Regions from separate parts of the Homo sapiens genome. Here all the other regions are linked to region 4. The links are contacts of gene promoters, found by promoter capture Hi-C in blood cells and fetal thymus (Javierre and others, 2016). All regions are on one chromosome and are shown on one strand. The core of a region is centred on a gene start or on the middle of the fragment in contact, and the rest is flanking DNA. Distances in the headings are between cores, read along the strand shown.

Region 1 (5,128 bases), core at 2,184-4,683, 830 kb before region 4:
CCTACAGGGCCAACTTGACTGTGTGTGGAGGGCCTGGCCCTGGGAAGTCACGGTTTGTCAGTGACGCATCTCTTGCCGGCCCTGCTTCAGGGTCTGTTGATTGATTACCTGTGCAAAACCGAGGCTTAGAGCAACTGAGAGACTTGCTGAGTTCACACATCCCAGGATGGTGGGGCCTGAGCTGTGGGCTGCGAGACTCTTGTCCCTCCCACAAGGACTCAACGCCTCCCTCTGGCTAGATGGCAGCTCTTGGATGATTCAGAGCACAAGGCCTCGAGACTGATGATGACCGTGAGACCCTCTCCCAGGCATGTGCCTGCCCCACTGCATGTATAGTTTCAGGGACCCCTACGTCCTTTGTGTGAAGGTCTCTGGTGCCCACTGGGTAGTAGATGGCTGCCCTTACCATCACGGGGCCTTGGTGTGTGCACACCACGGGGCCTGGACAGAGCACCTGGGTCCCCAGAGCAAGAGGACGTACTGGGGAGGCAGTGATGGGAAGATGTCTGTCTCCTTGAGAGCATGGGATGCACAAGCTGGGGAGAATGTCGACAGCTACTCCCAGCATCATTCATTCATCAGGTGTTTATTGAGTGCTTGCTGTATGCCAGACCTGGTGCCAGGGATCCTTTGAATAAGAAAGACACGGTCCCCGATCTCGTGCTCACATTCTGTTTGTGCACTCGTGGGCCCACATGGTGATGCGTGCAGTTAAACAGGAAGCTGGCGGAATGAGTGCCTGCGTGGGGACGGAACAGTTCCGCGTCTCGAGTACAGTGGTGGGGAGATGTGTCTGTGTGTGTGATAAAGCTTCACAGTTTGTGTGTAACTACACATGACATGTAAGAATGTTGGTGTGTGTAGAAGATGATGCAGCGTGCTGAAGGCCTGCAGTCCAGGTCATAGCAGTGTGCCTGGGTTAGTGTCCTGGTTTTGCTCATGTCCTTAGTTACTCTGATGTGCCCTTGGGGGATGGAGGAGGTAGGGTACACAGGATCTCTCTGTACTGTTTTTGCAACTTCTTGGGAGTCTTTTATTATTTTATAATACAAAGTGAAACAAAGCCAGAGGAGCTGTTTGCAGGTGATGGCGTGTGTGTGTGTGTGTGTGTGTGTGTACGCACGCACACGTGTGCGGGCGTGCTGGGGAAGGCTCCACTGAGGATGGCGGAAATGGGCCCTGTTGGCTTCTGGGGAAGAGCGAGCAGCCCAGGCCCAGGGTGACAGGCCAGCTGCAGGTCGCCGTGGCGGGCACAGGGTGAGCACCGCAGGGCAGGGGCAGAAGCTGAGGTCAGAGCCAGGCGGCATGGGGGCTGGGAGGAAGTGACTCCCCCCAACACTGTGGCGTCACGTTTTCACCCTCAGGGTGTCTCGTGGTGGCCCCGCCGCCCCCCTGCCCCCCCACAAGGCTTCCTGTTTGGCAGCTCATCTGGAGCCAGGCGTGGGCTGCACCGTGGCCCTCCTGGGCGGGCGCCCGTGCCGCACCTGTTGTTTGTCCTGTCTGCTGAAACAGAAAGCAGCCTTTGGGTGGCGGGGGCTCTTCTCCGAGCATGAGTTCTCACCCTGGCTCGCTGCTGGGCTTGGGGAGCCTCTTCTGGAAGCCTTGGGCCAAGGGGCACAGCTTTGTCTCAGGGTAGAAGCCTGATCACAGACTGAGTGGAGGCCCAAGCTCGAGCTTTCCTCGTTTAGCCTCAGTTTCACCTTGTGTCCAGGGTGGACAGGCTGATAACTCTGCAGTGTGCTTGCGGGCATCAGGACCTTCCTGCTGATCTCATTTGGATAGAGTAGGGAGCTGGACACTGGGTCAGCTTGTCTGACAGATCTTTGCTTGCTTTGTGCCAGGCTGGGGATGCCTGCCATGGGGGTGAGGGGAGACCCGGTCCCAGCTCCTAATCACAGTGCTTTCTGCAGCGAGGTGCTGAGAGGAGGACAGAGACAAAGGAGGTCAGCATGCCTCAGAAGGCGACAGGAGCTGGGGAGGGGAAGGGAGCAGCCGGGGAGGCTCAGGGCCCGACAGGGTAGCCTCAGCTCCTAGAGGACTTTGATGACCCAGGGAGGCACTGCTACATTCCTCCAAGTGACACCGGACCACGCAGGCTCCGAGCGGAGGAGGGATGGGTCAGTCTGCATTTTTGTTTTCAGAGTGTTTTTGCTTCTGGCTGCTGGGTTGAGCCTGGACTGCCGAGGGTATTGTGGTGGTTGGAGGCCCTTAGAGGATGCCCAGTAATCCAGGCATGAGACGAGGGTGCTGCCTGCACCAGCGGCCCTGGTGAGATACAGTGAGATTCTGGGTGTCTATTTTAAAGAACCTGGGAAAGAAAGAGGAGTCCAAGAAGATTCTGGAGCTTTGGGCCTTTGAAATGGGAGATGGGCTTGGCCCTGACTGGGGTGGAGGCAGCTGTGCAGTACAGTTTTGGGGAGAAGGTCAGGAGTTGGAGTTTGGGCCGGTTCAGGTGGAGATGCTGTTCCGGGCCTGGCATTGCCCCACAGAGAGGGCGTTCGACCTGTGTCCTGTGGCTGGCTGCCCCACAGAACTTGAATGTCCCTAGACCTCCCGGCCCTCCCCCTCACAAGTCACTGGGGATTCCCGGGAGGCAGGGCCATGGCCTGGCTTCCTGCCTGCCAGGCGCCTCGGGGACCTTCCCACACCCAGCCAGGCGGGAGTCAGAACCCTAAGAGCTGCGGTCCGTCTCTGCCGAGGTGGGGCAAGGCCCCTGGAGAGCAGGGAAAGTGAAATGGGCTCATTTGCCTTTTTCGTTTTTATTTTCAGAGGCGACTTTATGTTCAGAAAATGAGTCCTCCTGGGCCGTGGTCAGTTCTTTTCGCTGCGAGTTCTGCTTTGAGTGTGGGCAGCATGTGTCCCCAGCACCATCTGTACTTCTCTCTCCCGCCCACCACGGGGTTCTCAGACTCTGCCGGAGGCCCAAGCCCTCTGTCTTGGGGGCAATCTGTTGGACTCTGCAGCATCCTTAGTTTACAGATGGGGAAACAGAGGCCGGAGGGGCTGAGTGATGGTCCATGCGACTTGGACAGGCATGGCCAGGATCCGGGCTTGGGGCTCTTCCTGCCCTTGGACCCCTGAGTCTCTGTGGACAGAGTCAGCTGGGGTGCTCTTGACTGTGTGCTGACCCTGGGTGTGTTGGGGTGCAAATGCTGCCTGGGCCACGTGTGAACGGGAAGGGAGGCAGGCACCTCAGATTTCCAGTCTGGACCAGGCTCGGGGTCCCCCTGTCCTCTCCTGGGCTGTGGCAGAGCCAGCTCCTCCTGCATGCCCAACCCTCCCGGCATGGCCTGGCCTTTCCAGCCCTAATGGTGGCCCGTTTCAGTGGCTCCGTGATTTGGGGGTTTGGTGTTGCCCAGGCTCCGGCACTAGAGGGAAGCAGAGAACCCCTGAGTCATCCTTCCGCAGACACCCCGGACCCCAGCTAGGTGCCTGTGCCCAGTGTCCAGCGTTGCAGTGGGGCTTGGGTGGCATGTGGGGGGTCTGTCCCACCCATTCCTGTGGTTTCTTCCTTGGCTCTGCCTGGACTTTGCACACGTGGTGGGATTAATTCTCTGGTAAACAGATCCGCCTCTGATTGGTGCAAGACCCTTCTCTGGGGTCTTGGTGGGAGGATAGAAGTTTTCTGCAGAGGATGAGGAGGCACAGACGCCCGGTTGTTCTGAGGCCGGAACTTGGAAGGAAACTGGAAGGGAAGGAGGCTCCTGCCCTCTCCTTTGAGGTTACAGCTGGGCTGTGGCTCTGCAACCCTGGGGAGCGCGTGGGACTCCAGCAGCGGCCGTACAGAGGGCCGATTCCAAAGTGGCTTCTAGAGGAGGGAGCAAGTGCCGTGTGCCCAAAGAGGCCGGTGGGCCCTGGCCAAACAGGAGCAGCCCTGATGAGCATTGGGTCCCCCGACCTTTGGGCTCCTACCTGACTGCGCCTGGCCGCTGGTCTGTTTTGCTCACCAAGGGTTCTTGGCTGCTGCCCCCTGACCTGGGGCTGAAAGTCCTAGGAGAGGGAGGGCCTCTGTCCCTCCCAGCATTCCTCAGGCCCAAGGAGGCGTCGATGCTGCTGAAGTCTCTGGGGTGCACAGAAGCAATAGATCCTCACAGCAGCCCCCTGGGGCGTGTGGTTCCCCAGAGGCAGTGATGAGGTCACCCGGGGCCGCCAGGCACCTGGTCGGGGAGCAGAGGCTGGCGGGCTGTGCCTGTCTAGCTGTGACTTGCTGGGTGGAGCCGTGCCTGCCTGTCCCTCCAGCCTGCCCAGCCCTGGCTGCTCAAGGCTGAACTGCTTTCTCTGCCTTCTTGGGGCAGGGACTCTTGGCCTGGGAAGCAGAGGCCATTCCACGGGGGGGCTCTTTTGCCTCCCAGCTACCTGCAAAGCCGGGGCCTGCCTCAGATGCTCAGCACTGGGCACCTGCTGTGCTGGGGCACTTGGGACGCAGCAGCTGAGACCCTGCTCTTGTGGGGAAGACATTGTGCAAGGTAGATGATGAAGGGGCTTCCGATCATAAGGAAACAGAGCCGCCTGGGTGGACCCCTGAGGGGTGAGCTTTGAGCTGTGGGAAGAAGCAAGTGCATAGGTGCGAAGGTCCTGTGGTGGGAAGGAGTCGAATCTGGGAACAGAAGGAGCCCAGGGCAGTGGGAGTGTGGCCAGGGAGGGCGCAGTGCAAGTGGAGATGAGTTAGAAGAGGTAGGTTGAGGCCTAATAACGCAGGAAGCCACAAGGGAGCAGTTTGGGTTTTCTTCTGGGTACAGTGGGAGGCAGCTGGAGGGTTCTGCTTCTGGAGGTGATGGGGTGTTGATGTTTTCGTTTGTTTGTTTTTTGAAACGGAGTCTCGCTCTGTCTCCAGGCTGGAGTGCAGTATCTTGATCTCAGCTCACTGCAGCCTCCGCCTCCCGGGTTCAAGCCATTCTCCTGCCTCGGCCTCCTGAGTAGCTGGGATTACAGGCACGCACCACCACGCCCAGCTATTTTTGTATTTTTAGTAGAGATGGGGTTTCACCGTGTTGGCCAGGATGGTCTCAATCTCCTGACCTCATGATCCGCCCGCCTCGGCCTCCCTAAGTGCTGGGATTCCAGGCGTGGGTCTTGATGTTTTTAAGACAGCTCCAACTGCTGCTGGGTGAAGGATTCAGGGATGGAG
Region 2 (4,991 bases), core at 1,659-4,158, 790 kb after region 4:
TGTCTTTGATCTTCGGAGAAGTCTGGTAGGCAGGGGCCCCTGGGTGGGGAGGGAGGCTCGGGAGAGCTGGTGGGGACAGAGACAAGGGGAAAAGAGGCCAAGGCACGCCAGGAGAAAGGCTGGAAGTGAGGCAAGATGGGCTAATGTCTATGGAAACAGAATGGTCTATTCTTAATTTTAAAATGGTCTGTTTTAATTTCTGAAAAATATTGCTGGGGACCTATGAATAGGTCTGTTTTAATTTAAACAGATCATTAATAAAATGGTCTGTTTTAATTTCTGAAAAATACTGCTGAGGACCTGTGAATATCCTCCTCTTGAATTTGCACATTCTTCTCTTTACCTTTGGGCAGGGAGGAGGGGTGACTGGACCGGAAGCATCTGTGAGTCATGTGACATTCAGGTTTGAGCACAAAAAAGTTCCAAACTTAGAGAAATGTTACAAGGGTATTAATCTTGTGCTAACTTTGAAAAGAACCAGCAATTGTTACCACTTTGCCCCTTTGCTGAACTGCCCTCTCTCCGTTTATCACGTTATGTGGTTGTGGAACTGTTTCCCAGTAAGCTGCCAGCATCAAAACGACCTTGAAGCACAGTGCTTCATAATATGGGATCTCCTGGAAACAAGGACTTCCACTTAGAACCACCCTGCCATGATCAAAGTCAAGAAATGGAACACTGATACAATACTATTTTCCAGTGTACACAATCCTTATTTGAATTTTGACAATGATCCTCATACCATCCTCTATAGCAGCCCTCTTCCCTGGTCCTGGATCCAGCCCAGGATCATGGGGTGCACTGTCAGTACTCAAGGGCAGCCTGGGATCTACACACTAGACAGAGGTGAGAAGCAGTCCCAGTCCAGGCACTCTTAGGACACAGTGCTTTCTTCTTCCCCACCTCTGGGTTTCTCTTCTGGTTTATAGCTCAGGCCCTTTGGCTGTGTGTTTGAGCTCCTTTGGGAGTAAGCAGAAGCGATTTCCCCCAGACACTCCATCGTTAGGAACTTTCCTGATTGTGTTCCTGACCTCACATCCTGGGCCCCACCAGGCCTGTAGAAGGAACACAAGGTTTAGGAGTCAAGCCTGGGCTTGGGGCACAGGAAGCACAGGCCCCTCATGGACCAGGCTGGGCTCCAATGCTTCAACCAAGGTCACGGGTCTGGCGAGAGGCAGGGGAGGGAAGGACCTCCAGGGCTTCTCGCTCTGAGTTCAGTAGTCTTGCCTGTCCTGAGTCCCTGTCCTGAGAGATGGTGTCCTTGAGCTGCTCCAGAGCTAGGAGTGCTCTCTTCCTAAGTAAGCCAGAGTTCCAAGAGTGCAGGATCTGGCCACATCTACCTCCTTCATTCCCTTGTCTGCAGCGCCCAAGGTGAGCCCAGCCTATGACAGGTCCCCGTCCATAGCTGTTCAAAGAATGGGGGCAACCTCAGGGTGCCCGGCAGACGTTAAAGAGAGGCCTCAAGAGGTGGTTGCTCACCGGATGGTGGTTGTCCACATCCTCGGGGCTTCAGGAGTGAGGCCTTGCCCTGTACCTGCCCACCTGCACCTCGACAGCTCAACAGGCACAAGGCAGCGTCCACTGGCTCTCCCCTTCCGAGCCAGGGCTCTCACGCCTTCTCAGGGAGTCCCTTCCCCATCTTCCTTGGAAGCTTCCACCTTCTGTCCTCCAGGCGGTGGGGAACTGCCACCCTCCTGGGCAAGGATATGGAGCTGGTGTTTGGCCTGGATGCCCTTGCCTGGTTGGAGGTAATAAAGCCTAGGGCTGGCTTTCGACGATGATAGAAACTTGGTGGCAGGGGAGGTACTGAGGACCAGGAGACAGAACAGCTGCTTTCAAGCTGCTGAGTACCCAGCCTGCTGCCACTCCTGTACACCGCATGAGGGAATGCTTTTTTTTTTTTTTCTGACAGAGTCTTGTTTTGTCGCCCAGGCTGGAGTGCAGTGGCATGATCTCGGCTCACTACAACCTCCGCCTCTCAGGTTCAAGCGATTCTCCTGCCGCAGTCTCCCGAGTAGCTGAGACTACATGTGTGTGCCACCACACCTGACTAATATTTGTATTTTTAGTAAGAGATGGGGTTTCGCCATGTTGGCCAGGCTAGTCTTGAACTCCTGACTTCTGGTGATCTGCCCACCTTGGCCTCTCAAAGTGCTGGGATTACAGGAGTGAGCCACCACACCCGGCTCTAAGGGAATACAATTGGGAGTCCGTTTTGCTCTTGGAGAATTCAGGGTCTGGTAAAGGGACCCTATGGCAAACATTAAGACCCCAGACACCATGAGCTGAGATGGGACGACAGAGCAGGGGCTGGGAAGGGTGCTGGGGCACAGCCCAGCCCTGGCATGGATAGGGCAGGGGTCCAAGAGACCTGCAGGACACTGCAGAGTAACTTGCATACAGGGCGAGAGAGGGCATGTGGGGGAGGGCGGGCAGACAGTGCCTGATGCAGGCCATCCCGGGACCTGGGACCTGCGAGGCCCAGTTGTGGAGCCTCCTGCTGTGGCGGGGCACGGGGCTTCTGGGGACCAAAGTCTGGAAAAGGGGCCGGGAAGATGGACAGGGAAAGCCCTTGGAGGTGGTCTGGTTACCTGGGTGAGCTAGGAGCCACAGTCATCATACCACGGTCACTAGGGCCAGCATGGTCACCTAGAAGCCTGCAAACAGTGCCAGCCTCCAGGCCCTGTGCCCCGAGGTGGCCTTTAATCTTGCACTCACTCTCTAGGAAATGATGGGGCAGTATTCTGTGTTGAGGGAGGAAAAACACTCCCTTCCAAAAGCATGACAGGCAGAAAGCAGAGAAGGGCCAGGACTGGCTGAGGGCGGGGAGCTGGGCCTCTGGGGTGGACACACCCTTGGTCACATTGTGAGGGTAGCTTGGTTGGCCAGTCCCACCACTGCAGTGACCACAGTTGTGTTGGGCTCACACCAGTGAACCGAAGCTCTGGATTCTGAGAGTCTGAGGATTCCGTGAAGATCTCAGACTTGGGCTCAGAGCAAGGATGCGTGAAATTGTCCATATTCAGATTGGCCAGTGTGGCAACCAGATCGGAGCCAAGGTAAGTAATGTCTGGTTACTAATCCTAGCTTTACCACAGTCCATAGAGGCGGACAACCAAAAAAATACCCTAAGTTAGCAGGGAAGACAATAAGTCTAGCAGATTTAATGTACTTGCTAAATATCAGACAATGCCTTTGGGCTTTAATTCTTAAAAAAAAATTTCACATGGGAAAAGAAGGAAACAATCTTTAACTAAAGAGCTACAACACACATTAAGTGCTTAGAGTGTTAATTTAATTAATGTTAATTTTATCCATAGATACATATGTACAATACATGCCGACCATTATATTACATAATACGTTTATCATCTTTTTCTTTGCCCACTCTGTTGCCCAGGCTGGAGTAGAGTGGCAGAATCATGGCTCACTATAGCCTCAACCTCCTGGGCTCAAGCTATTCTCCTGCCTCAGCCTCCTGAGTAGCTGGGATTACAGGCATGCACCACTATGCCTGGCTAATTTTTAAATTTTTTTTTGAGAGACAGGGATCTCACTTTGTTGCTCAGGCTGGTCTTGAACTCATGGGCTCAAGTGATCCTTCTGCCTCAGGCTTCCAAAGTGGTGAGATGACAGGTGTAGGCCACCGTGCCTGGCACTTTTATCATCTTTTATTTTTTTGAGATGGAGTGTCACTCTTGTTGCCCACGCTGGAGTGCAATGGCGCAATCTTGGCTCACTGCAACCTCCACCTCCTGGGTTCAAGTGATTCTCCTGCCTCAGCCTCCCCAGTAGCTGGGATTACAGGCATGCGCCACCACGTCTGGCTAATTTTGTATTTTTAGTAGAGATGGGGTTTCACCATGTTGGTCAGGCTGGTCTCGAACTCCTGACCTCAGGTGATGTGCCCGCCTGGGCCTCCCGAAGTGCTGGGATTATAGGCGTGAGCCACTGTACCTGGCCCACTTTTATCTTAACAATGAACTTTTCATATCTAAAAACAGTAATTTGTCTCAAAACAGCTTTTTGAAGTTTTTTGAGAAACTTTCTGTACCCTGTCACTATGGTGTCTTTCCCCTCCCCTCTCATGTTTATTGTAACGCTTAAAAAAAATCAATTACTGTTTTATTAGTATGCAATTGAAAATTTAAGAAATTTAATTGAAAATAAAAGTTTTTTGTGTACAGTAACATAATTAATTAAAATACACTGTCTGGAATATAAATGAGTTTTTCTTTCCCTTGCCCCCCTGCTTAAAAATTTCCCCCAAGTACGTAACTTAATTGGCCAACCCCAAGAACACAGATGCCCGAACCCACAATCTCCAATCTTGATTTTAAGATGACCAATTGCACCGTGCAAAATTTATCGTGTTCTCTTTGCTGCTGTGAAATTACTTTTACTAATATGAGATGCATTAAAAGTGAGGTTTTGAAACACCTACATTCATCATCCATCAATGACACTTGGGTTGTTTCTGCCTTTTGGCTACTGTGAGTAATGCTGCCAGGAAACAACTAAGGCTTTTAAATGCAGGCGTTTTAAACCGGGGGCAAGGAACATTACTGCTTGAAAAGAAGTCACCATTCCTCCATGCCTCAGGGGTAAGACATTCATAACTCACACACAGAGAAGTGGGAGGCAGGAGCCCTGCTGCTCTGAAGCTGGAAGATAATACGGAAAGGGGCCCTCAAGAGAAAGTGTTAGGTTTAGATAGGGTTTTAGCTCTCACTCTGGAATCGTATGGTCTAGCGTTGAGAGTCCTGGCTGACTCATCATTTAGAGATATAAGAACTTTAAGACACATTTAATTTGGGGTATCTTAGAACTTGAATTTATTTATTCTTCCACTCCCTGAACAGTGCTGGCAGTTTACCATGAACTGCCTTGTTATTAAGACCATGGCCAGAGCAGCACTGTCATTTAGAAGATATGGCTGGGGTTTTTAACATACCCTTGGGGATTTTAATATATGTGAATACATTTTCATT
Region 3 (5,056 bases), core at 2,048-4,547, 670 kb before region 4:
TTCAAATGTAGAAGTGACACAAACTTAGAAGATCACTATGAATTTCAAGACAGTGACCCCAGAGCATGAAACTCCAAGAGAAGAGCCCCCTTCCAAGAGTGAGGCATGCTCTTGAGACTATGAAGTGGACCCTAGGATCAGTATGAAGTAGGTGCTCAGCAAGTGCTTGATGACTATGTGCTGGGAGTATAGACAGGAAAAGGACTCTCAGTTTGAGGACACATCTAGAGAACTGGCAATAGTAGCTGCTCATTCACTGTTGAAGGAATGAATATGATTCCTTTCTCGACCCTCGTCTATACCCAGCTGGGTTGAGACCCTCAGTTTCCTCATCTATAAAATGGGAAAGATAACAAAGGTACCTACATCGGAGAAAATCATGGAATGCATCCCATTTCTGGCATGCAGAGAAAGCCCAGTATTATGAAGATTATTATGCCCGGTGCTAGAGACATAGCAAGCATTTAATAAACGTTTGAGCTGAGGCTTCCTAGAGAATATGAGATTGCAGCAAATTGGATGCAAAACTTCTCTTTACCTTTTTAAATCCGTCTAATTATCTCGTATCAGGATATAGCTGGTGTGGTCACAAAGCAGGGAAAAAGCAATCGATATCCCTGAGTAACTGCAAAACATGGAGTGGCCCCAGGAAGGTGCAGGGAGGAAGTCCCTTTTAGTTTGAAACTATTTTAGTGTCCGATCTTTCTTTCTCCTTCTTTCCCCAATTTTGTATCTGGGCTCAACTTTTTATACATTTTTCAAAAGAAGAGCAGCCTTGGACCTAAGAAAATCTGAGCCTAAGGAGCTCCCCAAAAGCTAGGAGGTCTCTATGGCATCCGTCCCAGAAACAACTAACGCAACTCACAGGCAGCGTGAGCCACCTCCATGCCCCACCCACTGAGCACACACTGCAAAGTCCACTCGGCGGGTTAACTGGGGGTCCTCAGGGATCCCACCAGCAGGGTGGCTGTTTGGCTGCTTCTTCGGGTCCCTGTTGAAACCAACAGACAGTAGTTAGTTTTGAGGCTTACTTACAAATAAGCTGACAGTCAGATGAGGAAGACCCATGCTTCCGGCCAGCCCCTTGAAATTGTTGTCAATGAGTCCCCACTGGGGCAGGGAGTCTCTAAGGACAGGAAAAATGGGGGCCCGAGGGCATCATCTGCCAAGACCTAAGGCAACTGTACCCATACTTTTGCCTGTGTGTCCTCAAAACCCCTCTACTTTATCATGATTCTTCTTCCAGAGAACTCTGTCCTTTGAGGCAAGTCTGTAAACCAATGTTTGCTTTTTAACATTTTGACAAGGGACAGTTGCGGGGGAATCATTACCGTCCTTCCACGCTGTAAATGCAGGTAATGAAAGGATCGGATGAAGGTCGTTGGTGACTCACTGCTCTGACGTTTTACTTGAACTAGCTGTTTCTCTCCCAGAAGACTCAGAACATAAGCACCTGGAATGGATGGGTCGCATTTAGGACTCCAAATGAGTTCTGCTTTCCCTTTTTGTTTTCAATCTATGTGCTCTTTCAGGTACTCAAACCTGTTACCGTTTTATCAGCAAAATGGGACTTTCTACCAATTTGGTGGGATGAGTCTCGCCGGGAGTGATGTGTGTGTCACGGAATTGTGGTCATGCATCGGGATGGCTAATTCACTGATGTCAGATGCTAACGAAGTGGCCTCGGCTACTGAGCATCACGTCACTGTTGGGTTTAGACACAACACGATCTTATGTATGGATGACAGCACCACTAATAACAAATGCCAGTGACCTAAACGGGGAATAACTTCAAATGAAACAAAAAGCACCTCATATCATATTTATCCTGAAAGACACAACTGGCTGAATAAAATCTGAATACAGGAAACATAGCAATGGGTTGATAATTTTGGTGGAACTTGATGATGTGTGACCCACGCCCAACACAGTGTGACCCAAGCCCCCAGGAGGGTTCTCTAAGTGAGTTTGGTCGGAGGCTGCCATTCACAGTGACTTGTATTTGCCACAGCAGCTCTTTCTAAGCCCAGTCCTGGGATTATCTCAGGGATCATCCCACACCCCAGCGGGGAGATGGGCCAAGTCCCCACCTGACCTCATCTTAGGTAGAGAGGCTTCCATGGAAGTGTGGGCTGGCTGTGGGGGGTTGAGACCTAGCCCCGTTCTTTTGACATTTCACCCTGTGTTCTCCAAACTCCAGCAAGCAGCTTCCATAGCTCATTAAATTTGACTGAAGGTCTGATGGCTTGCAAAGCAAATTCTTTACAACTGTTATAAAGGTTTCATTGCTTAAGCATATAATCTAGCAAAACTGCCAAGCCCCCTCCACTCCCTAAACTCTAAGACTTGCCAGGGAAGAGAACAGTGGCCAGTGGACTGCAGGAGTAACTGCACTCAGCCCAGAACTCCCTGGAGGACACAGGGAAGGTTCTGGAAAGGTGGCGGTACCTCACAGGGAGAGACGTGGTGCTCCAGGGCCCAACTTGCTCATGTTCAGATCCTCACTCTGCAACCCACCAGCCGGCTGTGAGTGGCTACACAATCTCTGCCTCAGTTTCCCTATCTGTACATGGGTTGTTCATAGCCTCCACCTCAGAGGGTAGTAATGATGCCAAGCTCTTAGAACAGTGCTCAGCATGTGTGCATCCTGTGCCTACTCTATGCCAAGCACTACAGAGAGAAAAATGAACAAAATAGGGAGAAATCCCTGCCCTCATGGAGTTTACATCGGGGCAGGGGGCGGGGGCGGCACAGAGCAGACAATCAATACAGTGATTAGCCCCCAGTTAGGTTAGGCATTTCCAATCTTTGCCAATAAGCCACATATTTGCCCAAGTTAGGGTGCATCCTTCCCATGAACTTTGACTGTGACCTTTGACTATGGGGTGACATCTTATAGCTGTGGTGTTTTGCCAACCAGCAGCTCTTGGTACACAAAATGTGCTGCTAGCAGGTGCCCCGGCCAACCTTGTCCTTGACCCACCTGCCTGTTAAGAAAAGGGTGTTGTGTTTTGCAACAGCAGTAAAATGGGTCAAGGTTTAGTCAGTTGGAAGTTGTGTCAAAACTCACTATGGTTGGTTGAGGGCTCGAAGTCTCCCAGCATTCATTAACAACTATCTGTTCAATGATTATCTCCCTGGGGCGTGTTGCAGTGAGTTGGCCCAAAGCATAACTGACCCTGGCCGTGATCCAGAGACCTGCCCCCTGACGTCAGTGGCGAGCCTCCCTGGGTGCAGCTGAGGGGCAGGGCTATTCTTTTCCACAGTATTTAAAGCTGGGAGGTTCTGCCACCAAGCACGGCCTTCCCACTGGGAACACAAACTTGCTGGCGGGAAGAGCCCGGAAAGAAACCTGTGGATCTCCCTTCGAGATCATCCAAAGAGAAGAAAGGTAAGTAGAGCTTTGCATTTACATTTTGAAAAATTACAAAGATGAACTCATTTTTTTCCTGAGAGCAATAACTATTTGGCAATGCACAGCCCTGGCAAAAGGCCGTCGAATGTGTTTGAAGGTGTCTGTTGTTGTTTTTGTTCAGGACGCTTGCGTTTTCTATTTCAGGTGACCTCACATTCGTGCCCCTTAGCAGCACTCTGCAGAAATGCCTCCTCAGCTGCAAAACGGCCTGAACCTCTCGGCCAAAGTTGTCCAGGGAAGCCTGGACAGCCTACCCCAGGCAGTGAGGGAGTTTCTCGAGAATAACGCTGAGCTGTGTCAGCCTGATCACATCCACATCTGTGACGGCTCTGAGGAGGAGAATGGGCGGCTTCTGGGCCAGATGGAGGAAGAGGGCATCCTCAGGCGGCTGAAGAAGTATGACAACTGGTAAGCTCGGCCCCCGCTGCCTGTCCCAGCACCCTGCAGGCAGGGCTCCCCTGCGTCTCCTGGGAGTTGGTGGAGAAAGGTGAATGAAGGCCTTCGGGTAGTTTCAGACTCTTGAGAAGATGAATGCAATGGTCAGAACCATACAGACTTGAATTTTGTGACATTAGTGGGCCAGCCCAAGCTTTAAATGAGGTGTGTGCACAAAAGCTCTGCCAACTAGATTCCTGATTAAAAAAAAGGCAGCCCCTCTCCTACAGACCAGGTCCTAGTGGAGTAAATGTCCACCTGGCCATGTCTTAGATGGTCTGTGTGTTCACACTGATGGACTGTTGTTAGCGTGCTCAGCACTCTGCTAGGCATGGAAAGCCACGGTACTGAAGGAGATGGTTCGCTGCCCGTGGTGCTTGGCTGAAAGGAAGCCTGTGATTTTTGCAGCTGGTTGGCTCTCACTGACCCCAGGGATGTGGCCAGGATCGAAAGCAAGACGGTTATCGTCACCCAAGAGCAAAGAGACACAGTGCCCATCCCCAAAACAGGCCTCAGCCAGCTCGGTCGCTGGATGTCAGAGGAGGATTTTGAGAAAGCGTTCAATGCCAGGTTCCCAGGGTGCATGAAAGGTGAGCGGAACATTGATTTGATTGGGTAAAACAGCAGAGAGCCTTTTCTTATTTACATCTATCCTAATGGTAATTCAAACAATAATGGAAGCTCCCACCACCTCAGATGTCTTTCAGTTCCATACATGAAGTTGGCAATGTATTGAAAATGCACATCCCTCTTCTGCTTTTACAGACTGTCTTATACAAACGTGAAAACTAGTTCCATGCATATGGGTTTTAAATAGCTTGGTGGGACCCAATTGCACATTTATGAAAACTCTTTAATTTCAGCAGGCTGTTCACTTTCCAGTGGCCTCTTCTAACCCAGGGGGCTGGTGACCAGCAGGGTGTGGTGGTGTTAGTGGAACACCGTGAAAATGGGTCTACCTGGGAAAAAAATGCTGGTCGTGTTCGAAGTCCAAGGTCATTTCTCACCAGTGCCCACCCATCGCACCCTGTAGGTCGCACCATGTACGTCATCCCATTCAGCATGGGGCCGCTGGGCTCGCCTCTGTCAAAGATCGGCATCGAGCTGACGGATTCACCCTACGTGGTGGCCAGCATGCGGATCATGACGCGGATGGGCACGCCCGTCCTGGAAGCAGTGGGCGATGGGGAGTTTGTCAAATGCCTC
Region 4 (4,800 bases), core at 1,564-4,063:
ATGGAGCCCAGGGACTTTGATCCTGTTCTCATATCCTAAATATTGTAGGGAATCGGGATAGGGAAAGCCACGCCTTCGGGTCAGGGAAGGAGACTGATGGAAGGAGAGATGGGCTCTAGGGTGCCTGGCCTCCACTGGGTATCTGCCACATGGGACTTGTCTGGAGTGGGGCCCTTGGGGTCCTAATTCAGTCACAGGGAACTTTCGGTTCTGGGTTCTGATTCCAGCTGGGCTAGCTTTGAGCTCCCGATGTGAACAAGGACACAGCTTGGAATTTGGGGTTCTGATATGTACTGGGTTAGTTGCCACTATTTGGGGTTCAAACGTAGATAGCAGCATTTGCTTTGAGACTCGGGTTCCTGTGAGGGCAGTTTACTCTGGATTTGGGGTTCTGATTAAAGTAAGGTTTGCTGTCTGTTTGGGGTCCTGATGTGAAAAGGTCTGTTCTGGGATTTGGAGTCCTCGTATGGGCAGGACTTGTTTTGGGATGTGGGGATCTGATGTAGCCCCGAGTAGTGTAGCATTTGGAGGGTAGGAATCGAGCACATCTGCCCTGAGATTTGGGGGTCTTCATGGTGATAAAATCTGCTCAAAATTTGGGCTCCTGCTATATGCAGGGTTTGGTCTGGAATTTGGGGTTCTGGTATAAATAAGGTTGGCTGAAGGATTTGGGTTACATATACAAGAAAAGTTTGCTTTGAGTTTTGGGGTACTCATGGAGGCAAGGTTTTGTTTGAACCTTGACTTCCTGACATGGACATGGCCAGCTTCAACCTTGGAGTGCTGATGTAGACACGGTTTCGTATCTGGGGGTTCAGATATGTGTGGGTTTGACTTGAGCTTTGGGGTCCTGCTGTGGACAGAGTTTGCTTCATTCTTTGGAGCCCTTATGAAGATACTTTGAGGGGATTTGGGTTCTGGTATGGTCATGGTGAGCTCGGTGACTGCCTTTTAGATGTGAGCAGAGTTAGCTTTGAATTTTGGGGTCCATATGTGGGCAGGGTTCATTTTGGGCTCTGTCATCCTTATGTAGACAGAAGTGGCTAATGGATTGGGGTTCAGATGCACAAATGGTTAGTTGGAGGCCGGGGGTCCAGAATTGGGCAATTGAGGGTCATGACGTGGGTAGAGTCTGCTCTGGGATTTAGGGTTCTGTTATGGCCAGGCATAGCTTCAGGGTTTGAGGCTGAAACATGGGCAGAAGTTGCATAGAGATATATGGGGTCTTGAGGCAGGCAGCGTTTGTTTCGGATCTTGGCATCCTTGTGTGGACATGGTTGTGGAGGATTCGGGGTTCTAATAGTCACATAATTAGTCTGGCAATTTGGGATTTCAGATTTAGCCAGGTTTGTTCTTGGTTTTGGGGTCCTAAACTGGACAGAGTTTGTTTCAGCTTTGACCTCTTTGCCTGGACACAGTTGTTGAAGGATCTGGGGTTCTGAGGTAGTCATGGTTAGCCTGGAGATTAGGGGTTGAGTCTTGGGCTGGTTTGTTGATTTTGGGGTCCTGAGATGGACAGGGTTTGTTTTGATTTGGCATCCTTGCAAGACAAAAGTGGCTGGAAAATCTGGGGTTCTGAGGTAGTCATGGGTAGCCTGGAGATTTGGGGTTCAGTTGGGCATGTGTGCTCTGGATTTTGGGGTCCTGAGGTGGTCAAGGTTTGTTCAAGCCCTGGCATCCTGGGGGGGATGTGGTAGCTGGAGGATTTGGGGTTCTGAAGTAGTCATGGTTAGCCTAGAGATTTGGGGTTCGGTGTTGGGCAATTTTATTCTGGATTTGTGGGTCCTGAGGTCAGCAGGGTTTGTTTCAGGTTTGGCATGCTTGCGTGGACATGGTTGGCTAGAGGATTTGGGGTTCTAATGTTCTCAAGACCAGCATGGAGGAGGACTTGGGGTTTGCTTTGAGTTTGGGGTACTGACATGGGCAGGCTTGCCTTGGGTTTGGGGGTTCTGCTGAGGACAGGCCTTGTTTCAGACAAGTCTTACATGAACAGAGTTGGCTTTGGGACCTGGGTTCCTTATGAAGACATGGGGAGCCTGAGGGTCTGGCTTCTGGGGGGTCCTGGCTTGGACAGGATTTGCTCAGGGTTGGCAGATGCAGCCCGATCCAGGCAGGACCTGCTTGTGGATTAGGGTCCTGCTGTGGACAAGGTTTGCCTTGATTGGGAGTCCAATTTGAACGCCGTGTGTTTGAGATTGGGAAGTCCCTCTGTGGCCAGGACCCTAAGTGGCCCTTCCATCTGGGTTTCAGGGTGGTTGGGTTTCAGGGGTTTGCTTTGACATCTGGGGTTTCTCACGTAAGCAGGCTTCCCTTTGGGAATCCACTTCAGAAGTGGACAGGGTGCCCTTGCATGTGGCCAGGGAAGGAGTCAGGGCAGGAGCCACCTTCGTCGAGGTACTGGAGCCGCTGGAGGTTGAAGGGGATGCCGACCATCAGGTCCAGCTCCTCTTTGAGCTCCCGCACGGTCATGTCGCCGCGGCAGTTTGCCACTCGGAACATCTCCCCCGTCTCCTCCAGCCGCACCCGCAGGACGAAGACGTCAGGGGCCAAGTCGGGCAAGGCACTCGCGGCCTTCGGGTCACAGACGAGCCGCTGGCTCCGGCCGCGGGCACAGGCCAGGGGCTGCGCGGGGAGGGCCCGCGAGTCCGCCGAGCCCACCCTGGGCCCGCCGCACCCCTGAGCCCCGGCCCGCGCACCGCTCCTGCGTCCCGCATTGGGGTGCAGGCGAGAGGCGCCCCCAGTTGGCCCCGCCGCCCGCGCTCCGCCCGCCCCCGCCGCCGCCCGCCGCATCCCCCAGGCGCGGCCGCGCGTCATCCGCGGCTCGAGTGCGGTGGCCACGCGTCATCGCCGCCCCCGCCCTGACGCCCCAAGGCGGGCCCATGCGCCCCCCGCCCCACTGTGACGCCCAGGCCCCGCCAGGACCGCCCCCTCCAGACGCAAGGCGAGGCCCCTCCCTGCCTGCCGCCCGAGCCTCCAGGGAGACCGATGGGCGGGCGGCCCCCCAAGGTCCCGCAGTCCTTTCCCGCTCCGCGATGAACAAAGCCGCAGTTTCACGCGGCCGCGGGAGACGGTTCTTAAATAATGGAACAGGACATAAGTGCTTCCCAGAGCAACCGGGAGATTTATTGATAAATACAGAGACATCGCCGGGCAGCCACGCTCCGACAACCCGCACTGGGCCCCCGTCCCGAGCTCAGGCCACGTCCCCACCTCCTCGAAGCCTCCAAGCTGCTGTTAATGTCAGTTCTTTTCACCAGGCAAACGGAAGGGGCATTCTTGCTGCTGTTAGGAAACGGTTACCACTTCTCCGTGTCTGTTTAAAATAGGATCTTTGCATAAATTGGGATAAATCACCTGGAGGAATTACACGTAAACAAGGCTGTAAATCACCATTGCATGCATGGCCTGCAGAGTTGTAAAGTGCAGATTTTCGTTATAAAAACACTTCTAGTATGAATGAAAAAAAAAAAAAACCACCAACATTTCATAAACATGACTCCCTGCAGCCGATCTGGTCCCGACATGGGGGTGGATCCCAGAAGCGGGAGACAGCCTTCCACGGAAACTTGCAAAACTGCACCAAAATCTATCAATTTTGAAAATGCTCTTGAATTCTTGGCGGAAGAAAGATGCTGATAAACACATTAAGTGGGGAAATGCTCCCTTGAGAAAGGCTGGGTTGGCTCTATGAAGACACCTTTGGAGTGAGCTGTGCCTGGGAGAAACCCATCTGTGCTTTTCCCTTCATTCACCGGAGATGAGGCTGAGTGTTCAAGTAAACAGGAAGCTTACCTGTGGTGGTCAAATTACAAACACTCAACATGGCACCCATGAATAATTAGAAAATACAAGCGCCGAAGTGACGGGGGCGGGAGCTAGGAGGGCGAGGGGAAACAGAACAATCTTGGAAAAATCTCGGTTGTTGCAAAAAAAGAATAAAATGTATGCTTAAAAATTATTTTTACAGAGAAATTACAGCCATAAAAAATATCTGTGCATTGGAAAGGCACTCATATTATAGAAAAATGTTAACATATAAACGGAAATTGTAAAGGTTAGATTATTTACCAAAGAGTCTCTACAATCTCTCCAAGCATGTTGTGATTCAGCATGCAAATTATACACATCACAACACAAACTGAAGCTCATTTTTTTCCTTAACGGAAAATTAAGCTCTGAATAGAATACAAGATTCCAGTTGAATAATTCTACTTGCTGCTAGATCAACAGATTTTAACAAAACAATCTCAATTTGCGGGCAATAAAAAAAAATTAAAAATTGCTGGTTACCAAAGCAAAACAATATCTCCATTTACTTTAGGCAAGAATTAAACACACGACGGATTGACTGATTTTTTTTTTAATATGTAGCTTCTGATTTATTAACTCACTTTTTGCCGACGCTGCCTAAATGCTACCCTGGGGTATAATTTGCAATTCTCACATAGGTACCTTATTATTATTTTGGCGTGGTGTATATACGCCTATCTTTCTTTTAAAAGAATCAGTTAAATGGAATTTGGAGGTGGAAGTCACATCCTCTATACTAGAAAATTCAATACATAGCTTCAAGAATTTCATTTAAAAATAAAGACAAGACAAACAAGAAAAAGACCAAAGGGCAGAATAGAAATAGCTTACAAGCCCTTAGCAGAGCTAGCTCTTGAACCCCAAATGGGCTGTTTCCTCCTTCCTTCCCTTATCCTACCTTTGAGAACATAAAAATAGAAACACGAAAAATGACATGTGCATACATGTAAGTAAAATTTGTTCAAATGGTTAGAAAATCTTAAATTACTG

The links. The method cuts DNA at HindIII sites, captures the fragments that hold promoters and counts their contacts. A CHiCAGO score of 5 or more calls a contact.
Region 1: a contact is called between a fragment that was not itself captured here and the fragment with the promoter of ANKRD60 in region 4, in 1 of 17 cell types (endothelial precursors). The highest score is 5.1, in endothelial precursors.
Region 2: a contact is called between the fragment with the promoter of TUBB1 here and the fragment with the promoter of ANKRD60 in region 4, in 3 of 17 cell types (activated CD4 T cells, endothelial precursors and total CD8 T cells). The highest score is 5.9, in activated CD4 T cells.
Region 3: a contact is called between the fragment with the promoter of PCK1 here and the fragment with the promoter of ANKRD60 in region 4, in 1 of 17 cell types (M2 macrophages). The highest score is 6.9, in M2 macrophages.

Annotation. Positions count from the first base shown.
Region 1 is chr20:57,397,159-57,402,286 of GRCh38, forward strand. The region is part of intron 3 of RBM38 (RNA binding motif protein 38); the gene reads left to right. Among named protein-coding and RNA genes, the nearest start is that of RBM38-AS1, 6.7 kb to the left of the region's middle. RefSeq lists enhancers at 1,267-1,766, 1,744-1,833, 2,808-3,671, 3,654-3,753 and a silencer at 1,374-1,493. The HindIII fragment of the contact is 5,250 bases long and covers 809-5,128 here.
Region 2 is chr20:59,016,521-59,021,511 of GRCh38, forward strand. TUBB1 (tubulin beta 1 class VI) reads left to right here and starts at 2,909. Exons shown (of 4, transcript NM_030773.4): 1 at 2,909-3,059. The coding sequence starts at 3,003. The HindIII fragment of the contact is 6,433 bases long and covers 1,650-4,991 here.
Region 3 is chr20:57,557,813-57,562,868 of GRCh38, forward strand. PCK1 (phosphoenolpyruvate carboxykinase 1) reads left to right here and starts at 3,298. Exons shown (of 10, transcript NM_002591.4): 1 at 3,298-3,391; 2 at 3,560-3,823; 3 at 4,259-4,440; 4 at 4,884-5,056. The coding sequence starts at 3,600. The HindIII fragment of the contact is 6,047 bases long and covers 1-4,002 here.
Region 4 is chr20:58,225,840-58,230,639 of GRCh38, forward strand. It overlaps ANKRD60 (ankyrin repeat domain 60), which reads right to left and starts at 2,814. Exons shown (of 4, transcript NM_001304369.2): 1 at 2,385-2,814. The coding sequence starts at 2,814. The HindIII fragment of the contact is 6,586 bases long and covers 1-3,785 here.